Regions from separate parts of the Homo sapiens genome. Here all the other regions are linked to region 1. Evidence: promoter capture Hi-C in human tissues and cell types (Jung and others, 2019). All regions are on one chromosome and are shown on one strand. The core of a region is centred on a gene start or on the middle of the fragment in contact, and the rest is flanking DNA. Distances in the headings are between cores, read along the strand shown.

The links. The method cuts DNA at HindIII sites, captures the fragments that hold promoters and counts their contacts. A contact is called where the count stands out against the background at its distance.
Region 2: a fragment that was not itself captured here is called in contact with the fragment with the promoter of ARHGAP44 in region 1 in 1 of the 25 tissues and cell types used here (lymphoblastoid cells).
Region 3: a contact is called between a fragment that was not itself captured here and the fragment with the promoter of ARHGAP44 in region 1, in 2 of the 25 tissues and cell types used here (dorsolateral prefrontal cortex and lymphoblastoid cells).

The regions. Positions count from the first base shown.
Region 1 is chr17:12,787,998-12,791,063 of GRCh38, forward strand. It overlaps ARHGAP44 (Rho GTPase activating protein 44), which reads left to right and starts at 1,501. Exons shown (of 21, transcript NM_014859.6): 1 at 1,501-1,894. The coding sequence starts at 1,842. It overlaps ARHGAP44-AS1 (ARHGAP44 and MYOCD antisense RNA 1), which reads right to left and starts at 2,287. Exons shown (of 2, transcript NR_104607.1): 1 at 2,146-2,287. RefSeq lists a silencer at 1,428-1,777. The HindIII fragment of the contact is 5,339 bases long and covers 1-3,066 here.
Region 2 is chr17:13,004,081-13,007,146 of GRCh38, forward strand. ELAC2 (elaC ribonuclease Z 2) reads right to left here. Exons shown (of 24, transcript NM_018127.7): 9 at 1,841-1,899; 10 at 1,673-1,745; 11 at 909-1,021. Among named protein-coding and RNA genes, the nearest start is that of ELAC2, 12 kb to the right of the region's middle. The HindIII fragment of the contact is 8,331 bases long and covers 1-3,066 here.
Region 3 is chr17:12,923,789-12,926,854 of GRCh38, forward strand. All of the region lies in intron 6 of ARHGAP44 (Rho GTPase activating protein 44), which reads left to right. Among named protein-coding and RNA genes, the nearest start is that of MIR1269B, 8.0 kb to the left of the region's middle. The HindIII fragment of the contact is 4,426 bases long and covers 1-3,066 here.

The DNA of each region.
Region 1 (3,066 bases), core at 251-2,750:
CCAGCAAGATACTTAGAGCCATATTTAGGACATCTTGCAACTATAATCAACATATGCAAAATATCCTATTTCAAAGAAGATCCTTCCTTTATAAGATTAGTAATTCTGTTGTATGAACAGGATTTTTCTCTATTATGCTAAATATAATCATTTTGTAGTAAATGAATACGGCAATGTACTATATGAAAATTTATATGTAATTTGATTATTGTAATTTAACAAATAGTTCTCTTACTGAAGATCAGGCAGCATATTTTTCTATTTAGGGATGAGGAAACAGAGGTTTGGAGAGGTTAAGCTGTTTTCCTAAGGTTATATAACAGGTATGTGGAATTCTGATGCAGGAACTCCTATCTGTTTAATCCAAAGTGCCTCACACCCAACAATACTGCTTTTACTTGATATATAATGATAAAACCTTGATATATAATGATAAAACCTAACTGCAATCACCAATCTTTTTCTTTTTTTTCTTTTCTTTTTTTTTTGTTTTTTGAGATGGAGTCTAGCTCTGTCACCCAGGCTGGCGTGCAATGGCGCGATCTCCACTCACTGCAACCTCCACCTCCCAGGTTCAAGCTATTCTCCTGCCTCAGCCTCCCAAGTAGCTGGGATTACAGGTGCCCGCCACCACGCCCAGCTAATTTTTGTATTTTTAGCAGAGACAGGGTTTCACTGTGTTGGCCAGGCTGGTGTCGAACTCCTGACCTCGTGATCCACCCTCCTTGGCCTCCCAAACTGTTGGGATTACAAGCGTGAGCCACCGCGCCCGGCTCACCTATCTTTTTCTAAGGATAGAGACCAAAGAAGCCACAACCCCTTCCAAGGAGTCAACTGACGCCAATGGGATGCTGTGGTGCAGGACACTTGGGGGGTGCTGCAGCTGATGCCCCTTGGTCTCCTGGTGGTGGAAGGGAAATGGGACTAGATACGAGATTGGCATCTAAGCCATACAAAAAAGCTGTCTCAGACAGGTTGGGCCAGTAAGCACAACGTCACTTATCTATATTGGCTTCTGGTTACCTAATGGGTTTGGTTTGGTAAAAATTAAGAATCAGACTTCTGGGATGCAAGCTATGCCTGTTCAAAATCTGCTGTCAGCCCCTGTGTTTCAAGCTTAACCTTGAACCTCATCATTAATCAGGTGACCTTAGACCGTTTTATCAGCCACGTATCTGCTAGCATAAATCTCCCTTCTGTGAATTCAGAACACTGATACCTCACATTCACTAAAAATACAATGAGAGACAGATGCTCACTTTCTTTATTTGCTGTTGTATTCTTGGTCCCACTTTGCCATTTTTAAAACAGGAAAACGTTTCCCTTACTCGAACGCTAAAGTGCAAAGCTGCTGGTGACGCTGCCTTCTCCCACCTCCGCACTCCACTGTCCTTGCAAACTTTGGACAGAGGAAAGGTGGGCACGGGGCGCGAAACTACAAGTCCCGGCATGCACGGCGTTCTCCGCACAGGCGCACGGGGACCGCCGGGCCAGCCGGCCAGCCAGCCTGCGGAGACTCCCGGGTCCCCGCGCCGGACTGGGACTGGGAGCAGGCAGCCCGGGCGGAGCGGGCCGGTGCCGAGGACGGCCCCAGGCATTGCTCTGCCCCGGGCATTGCGCGGCGCGCGTGAGGGGGATGCGGCAGGAGGCGGCGCGGCGGGAGGAGTAGGCGGCGGCGCCCTCGGGAGGGAGCTGCGCGCGGGCCAGACGGCGCCCGGAGGCTCCGCAGTGCCGCCGCCGTCGCCCGGGAGGCTCCGCGCGGGAGCCATGTAACCCTGCGGCGGGCTCCGGGCTGCTCCGTCCTTCCCCAGCTCCCGGGCTAGCGCGGCAGCGGGGCCACGATGAAGAAGCAGTTCAATCGCATGCGCCAGCTGGCCAACCAGACGGTGGGCAGGTAGGTCACCCGCGGGCACCGCTGTCGGTGCGCGCCCGCGAGGCTGCATCCGCAGGGGCGCGCAGGTGATGGAGCCCGCCCAGCCTCCAGTCCTCCTTGCCTCAGTCCTTTCCCCTGCACCAGCTCCCTCCAGGCGCCGCTCGCAGGCGCGACCCCTCCTCCCTAACTTCCCAGACCCCGGAGCTCTTCTCACTCGCCGCCTTCTGCTCCGGGCTCCGGTTGCCAAGCGCAAAGTGTGACGCATCCTTTACCTGCGTCCCCGGCTGCCCCTTCGCTTCGTCCTCCCTGCCTTTCCCCGGGACTCCCTTCTCCCTCTGGCCGCCTGTCTTCCTGGAAACAGGTGTTTGCTCTGATTGTGCTGGAGGCAGCCGAACCGCAGTCGGTCTCCGGAGATCTCTTCCCTCCCCTCCCCTGCGCCGAGTTCAGGGCTGCTCCCGGGTCCAGGGAAAGTGCTGGGCCTGGTCGGCCTGCCCCTCCCGCCGTGTTTGTTTTCAGGGACTATGACTGTACGAGATTCTGGATCACTTTCCTGGCCGGGTTTCTTAAGGCGTTTGGTGGGGGGAAAGGGTGAGGGGTGGGAGAGGAAGGAAGGTGCTGGTGGAATGGCGTTGCTGCCTGCTTGATGTTAGGACTGATTTCAGTGGAGGGAGGGAGGCTGCAAAAAGGAGGCCCAAGTCCTCGGGAAGATGAGATAAGCAGAGAATCGCAGCCAGGTAGGGGAGGGGGACAGAGGCCCCACAGTCAGAAGAGTCAGGCCCCGGGAAGCTGCAAGACCCCGCCTGCTGCCATCACGGTGAAAATGGGCTACATCTGGACTCCAGGAGCGGCTCTGCAGGGTGCCAACATCTATTAAGGTTACATAAAAATCCTGGTGGGTCGCTCCCAAGACTAGACATTCTTTGAACACAGGAGCGTTAGGTAGAAGGGATTTTTCCTGGAACCCCTACTCCTGGGGAGGGATTTCCGTTGCTGCTGTGGCAAAGGAATTCAGGTGTGCTGTTCTAAAGCAATCAGAAAGCAAAGAATCCAGCCTTGGGTGCAGTTCAAATGCAAGCTCAACACCTCGAGGGCTCTCCACTAGGTTTACGGAGAAACCGAATACCTTTCTTGGGTGGGAAGTGGAGCCTGAACTGGCATCTGGTAGGATGGGGGTGGGGACATCCCTGGGGAAT
Region 2 (3,066 bases), core at 319-2,818, 220 kb after region 1:
GATGTGTTTCCCTCCAGTTCCCTTTAAAAAGAAATATACACAGTAGCTATTTTTATCTATCCCAGCATCATCACACATCCACACATGGCTCTCAAATGACACCTGATTCATTGAAGAGGTTTTGCTGCCCAAAACTGGATTAAAATACAAAGCCGGGGCTACCAGCGCATCCAAATTCACCCACAGAGAATAAAGCAGACCATGAAACAACTCCTAACGCTCTGACTCGGAAGGGGTACAGCAGCCCAAAAGGATTTGTTGTGGTAAGTAGAAAAAAACAAGTGAAAAAATACAGATAGATACAAACTAGGAACAGGAAAAATACAGGTAAACCATTAAGAGTGGGGGAAAAGATTCAAACTCAGATAGGTGGGTCAAAGATGATTCCATCTGGAATGAAAGCTGAACCGCAAAACTGGTTAACTTCGATAGAGGACAACAACAGAGTGGCAGTTAGCCCAAAAGACATTCCCCAGCTGTGAGTCCATCCCATAACACGGACTCTTGACCACGACAGTCTCACACACTCTGACCCACCTCATTTGTTTCAATGCAGGTAATGGAAGAAAATTAATTCAGTTCAAAATAATCCAAATGATAATCTGGGGCATTAGTTAGAATTCAAAAAAGTTCTAGAATTTCTTCTGGTATAAGAGCTGTAAGAGTTCTAGTTGAATTTCTAGTCCTCAGTTGTTTCTAGTTTTCAATCTTTTCTAATTTCACTTTGAGGCTGTGTACACCGGAGCCCACCAACTACCAACAGTGACTTAAGGCAGGAGTGCCGGCCTCTGAACTGTAAACCCAGATAGTGGTCTTCCCAGAAACACAGCTCTTGCCACAAGATGCCCATGTCGATGCTGGGCTGGGTTTCAGCTCTCACTTCTCCCACCCTAGAGACCCCTCATTACCTCTGAAAGGTGGCATTCTCACAGATGGGTTGAATGAAGCTTTCATCTGGACATTCTACCACCACAAAAGCAGCACCAGGATCTGGAGGAGTACACAGCTCTTCAGCCAAAATCTGCAAAACCAAATAAGCCCGCCCACTGGGGGTCACAGCTCAGCCACCAAACTGAACTGCCTTCAAGGCAACTGCTAACATGACATATCCTATCCAGTGAGCTGAGAGGTAAACAAAGCACAAAACCAACTTTACACATCACCATCAACACCCTTCTGGTCTCTTTGTGGATACCTAAACAGGTAACTGTCAGGTTGAGGCACTTCAGGCCTACACTGGCCAGGAAAGGAGGCTTGGCATTAAGGTTTTCTTCAGTCTGTGGCCACTGGTCCTAATGTCCTCAGAAGTCAGAGGAAATATCTTGACATAGAATACTGTGGCATTCCTCTGGACCATAAACCCCAGGCCCATCCATATGGGGTCTGTTGTTAGACACTGTCCTGAGCTCAAGTACCAAGGAAAGCATGCACCCTTTAAGGAGGACGGTGACTAGATCCTAAATGGACAATCTACAAAAATGCTCGAATGCAGCCGTGTTGACATGCGGGACAAACACAGATAAAAGAGGCCATTTTATCACTTAGCTGAGTGATGTCCAAACTGTTCCACGTCCTTCAAAAGTGGTGTCTGTAGGGCCTGAAGAAGACAGACTCTGCCCAGCATTTCAGACCCTACCTGTAACTGCTGAATCAAGAAAACCAGGCATCTCACCTCTCTTCCTTCATGAGTGATGCTTTTCCCGTCCTTGACAGCAGCAATGATGGGAGCGATGGCAGCTGTCCCACTGAAATGAAGAGGCAAGGCCTCTGTGAAATGTGATTTCCTTAAGTGGACAGGTGTACCCAGTGAGTCCCCAGAAGCCTTACCCCCCACACTCACACTGGGAGGCCCATCTCCTTTGCTTTGAGCACCAAGAAGTTTCCTCTCTTTAAGTGAAGCTGCAACAAAGAGAACATAGATGTGATCTTAGGGGCTAATGAAGAAGGTTGGTTTTAATCAATTTTCTTAGAAGTGTATTTTTCTAGATTAAAAAAAAATAATAATGTTGGCCAGGCACGGTGGCTCACGCCTGTAATTCCAGTACTTTCGGAGGCTGAGGCGGGCAGATCACCTGAGGTCAGGAGTTTGAGACCAGCCTGACCAACGTGGAGAAACCCCGTCTCTACTAAAAATACAAAATTGGCCAGGCGTGGTGGCACGTGCCTGTAATCCCAGCAACTCAGGAAGCTGAGGCAGGAGAATCGCTTGAACCCAGAGGCGGATGTTGCAGTGAGCCGAGATCGCGCCATTGCACTCCAGCCTAGGCAACAAAAGCGAAAGTCTGTCTCAAAAAAAAAAATAAAAAATAAAATGATGTTGTTTCCTTACAATTCATTAAAATGCGTTTATTGCTTTCAGAAGGTATACCATATTCTGAAGAAGTCATTTATTGTCAAATGCTTTAGTACTAAAAGCCAAAATGACTTAAATCAGTGTTTTATTTCCCAGCATTAACTCATTATAAATTTAATAAAATGTAATTCAATATGAAAGTTAATAAATATCCTTCAAGTATCATTGAGGAGAAACACTGTTCTGTCATTCTACATTCCTCAATTAATAGCTAAAGGAATGTCACCAGAGCGTTGCCTAACAGAGCAACCAGCAAGCAAACTGCCATGTAACATAATATTTCAATGACAGTGATAGGCTAACAAAAGCATGGATGATTTTTATTTCTCTTGTATTTTTCAATTATGTGGCAATATAATGTCACTGCTTTTATCTTGGAGATAAATTATAATAAAAAATCTCTAATAGCCAGGCACAGCGGCTCATGCCTGTAATCCCAGCACTTTGGGAAGCCGAGGCGGGTAGATCATGAGGTCAGGAGATCAAGACCACCCTGGCTAAGACGGTGAATCCCTGTCACTACTAAAAATACAAAAAATTAGCCGGGTGTGGTGACGTGCGCCTGTAGTCCCAGCTACTCGGGAGGCTGAGGCAGGAACCCAGGAGGCGGAAGATTGCAGTGACCCGAGATCGTGCCACTGCACTCCAGCCTGGGCGACAGAGTGAGACTCTGTCTCAAAAAAAGAAAAAGAAAAAAAAAAAAACCCTAATAT
Region 3 (3,066 bases), core at 221-2,720, 140 kb after region 1:
AACTTCCTGCCATTTTCCCTAACTCCTCACTCTTAGCCCGTATGAGGTCTGCATCCCAAGATATAGCAGTGAGAGCAAGACCAAATGCTGTGCTATTGAACAGCAGGGATCACCAGCTCCTCTTCTGGAACAGCTGGGTTCTGAATGCTCCCCCCCTACCCCCTGCATTTCTCCATAAAGCCAATGGCACAGGTTAGTTTTTCTTCCTTGCAGCATCCTACTTCTGATTTATTTCATATTGTTCTGTCCTTCATGAAGTATGCTCTGCAGCACTGCAACAGTGAATTCCACATAGAGACCCTCCGCCTTTCAAGACAGGAAGTAGATTTGTATATATTATCAGCACATCTTGAACAATAGTCCCATGACTGGATCTTTAATTTCTGCCACAATTCTGATGGATACTGTCAAATCCAATTAATTTATCTCGTGTTTAATTAGATCCCAATAAGATGTGTATGTTTGTCACTATTGAAGTAAATCTGGCTTGTCTGCTTCAAAAGCCAATGATACAGACCTCAATATTCTCAGAGAAACTGATGCTTACAGGACGCTTTATGCTGAATTAAAGGTTGTGAATTGAATTGAATGATACGCAAATTTCTTTTTTGTGTGTGATAGGTTTGGTTTAGCAGTGCTTAAAGAAGGAGCCTAATTTTTCTCCAAAGTCAGCCTGACTTTTTTCTGGTCATGTAGCTCAAGGTTAACCCTCCCGAGTCTGGGACACATACACATTCCATTTCTGCCGAACCAGCTGCCTCTGGGTCCTAGGGACTGAATGGTATCTCTCCAAAATTTGTATATTGAAGCGCTAACCCCCAATGCGACTGTATCTGGAGATAGGTTCTTTAGGAGAACCTTATTAAGGTTAAATGAGGTCATAAGAATGGGCCCCTATTTCACTAGGATTGGTGGCCTTATAGGGAGAAAGAGTGATCTCTCTCTCTACACGCACTCAGAGGAAAGCTGTGTGAGGACAGAAACAGCAGCCATCTGCAAGTCACAGATAGAGGTCTCCAGCCTCTGTCTTGATCTTGGATGTCCAGCCTCCAGAATTGTGAGAAGATAAGCCTCTGTTGTTTAAGCCACCCAGTCTGTGGTACTTTGTTATGGAAGCCCTACCTTCTTTGGAAGCAAGTGAACTAGTGTAAGTAAGACAGGAGGGTTTTGGAGTGGAAACTGTGCAGGCTATGGAGTTAAGAAGTGGAATTCTGGAGGCGGGGCAGTGTGAAGTCTTGTTAGAACTGGCAGTGGAGTCTCGATGGCCATCAAAACTCATTCCTCGTCTCTCACCCCTCCCCATACAGGTGTCTTTTTCTCACATCTGATTTCTTCAAGGTCACTGGATGTCGCATGGGCTCATGTCTCCCCACTATGAGCCCTCTTCCTTTTGCCCCAATTCCGAAAGTGCCAAAGAGGGACTCCATTTGTCTGGACTTTGCTCATATGCCCACTTCCATGACTCGTCAGTTGGGTCAGTGTGAGGAAGGATGGCACAGGCTTGACTTGGATCAGAGGCCCTCACCTGGGCCACTCACTGCCTGGGTCATGCAGAACCTGGCAGTCCCCTTTTTGACCACACATTACTGCAGAGTGGAAGCAGGAACTTAAAAAGTGGGGGATGCCCATGGCAGAGGAAGGGGCAAGACTAGACAGAAGGAACAGTGAATGCCCCAATGAAGACACTCTCCTGTCTGCCTTTTAAAATTCTTCTTCTGGACATTCTGTTGTCCTGAACTGACCTGCATTTGCCTTCTTTACATATTCCTGGTACCTGAAATTTTAAACCCTTATTCCTCTCCCTTCTCTCTCATCTCTCCCAAGGCTTCATTAAAGCTTGTGTCCCATCTTCATCTCCCCCAGATCACATAGTCACAAGTCCTCTTTCCCCAGAGAAGGATGGTGGTACATCAGCTACTTTAGTGAGAAGAAATGATCCTTCTGCTCTTCAACTTTCAAAGCTCAAAGTTTCCTTGGACAATGTCTAGTGTTCCTGTTTCTCCTCTGACAGAGCAGCCCAACTCTTGAGTTTATGTGTAGAACAGAGGTCTGAAAAGACTACCAAACCTTGAAATTCATAATTCGTGTTACTTTTCCCAAAATGACTATCTGTACAAAATTTTCCCAACATGACTATCTGTACAAAATTCATGTCACCTTTTCCAGCATGAGTATCTGTACAAAACTCGTCTGTTCACATGACAAGAGTTTACCTTGGTATTTTGTTTGCTATTTATGTTCCACAAAGAGAACATATTTTGGACATCTTGTCACTGTTTTAAAATATCAAAATAGACCAGGCACGGTGGCTCACGCCTATAATCCCAGCACTTTGGGAGGCGAATGAGGGTGGATGGCCTGAGGTCAGGAGTTCAAGACTAACCTGACCAACATGGCGAAACCCCGTCTCTACTAAAAATACAAAAATTAGCTGGGCATGGTGGCATGTGCCTGTAATCCCAGCTACTCGGGAGGCTGAGGCAGAAGAATCGCTTGAACCCAGGAGGTGGAAGTTGCAGTGAGCTGAGATTGCACCACTGCACTCCAGCCTGGGTGACAGAGCGAGACTTGATATGAAAAAAAAATTATATATGTATTATATATAATATATATTGTATATATATAATATATATGTATATATAATATATATGTATATACATAATATATATACATATATAATATATATAATATATATGTATGTATAATATATGTATATATATTATATATGCATATATATTATACATACATATATATTATATATATAACATTGTAAATTGTAAATAAAATTTCTTATAAAAAGGGGAAATGTATATGTTTTTAAAGCATCAAGATACTGACTACAGGATAAAATCTGGAGGAAAAAATAGATGAGAATAAAAAGAAAAGAAGGAACTTGGGAAAATGTCTTCATTTTAATATACCTATATTTAGTATGATTCTGTTTTTTAAAAAATTTAATCCTGAGTTACAAAGCCATAAAAATCTACTTAGTGTTTGTAGTCACTTTATATATATTTTAAACACTTTCATATTGGTTAGTTATTTTTTCTTCAGGTAGCATGAGTC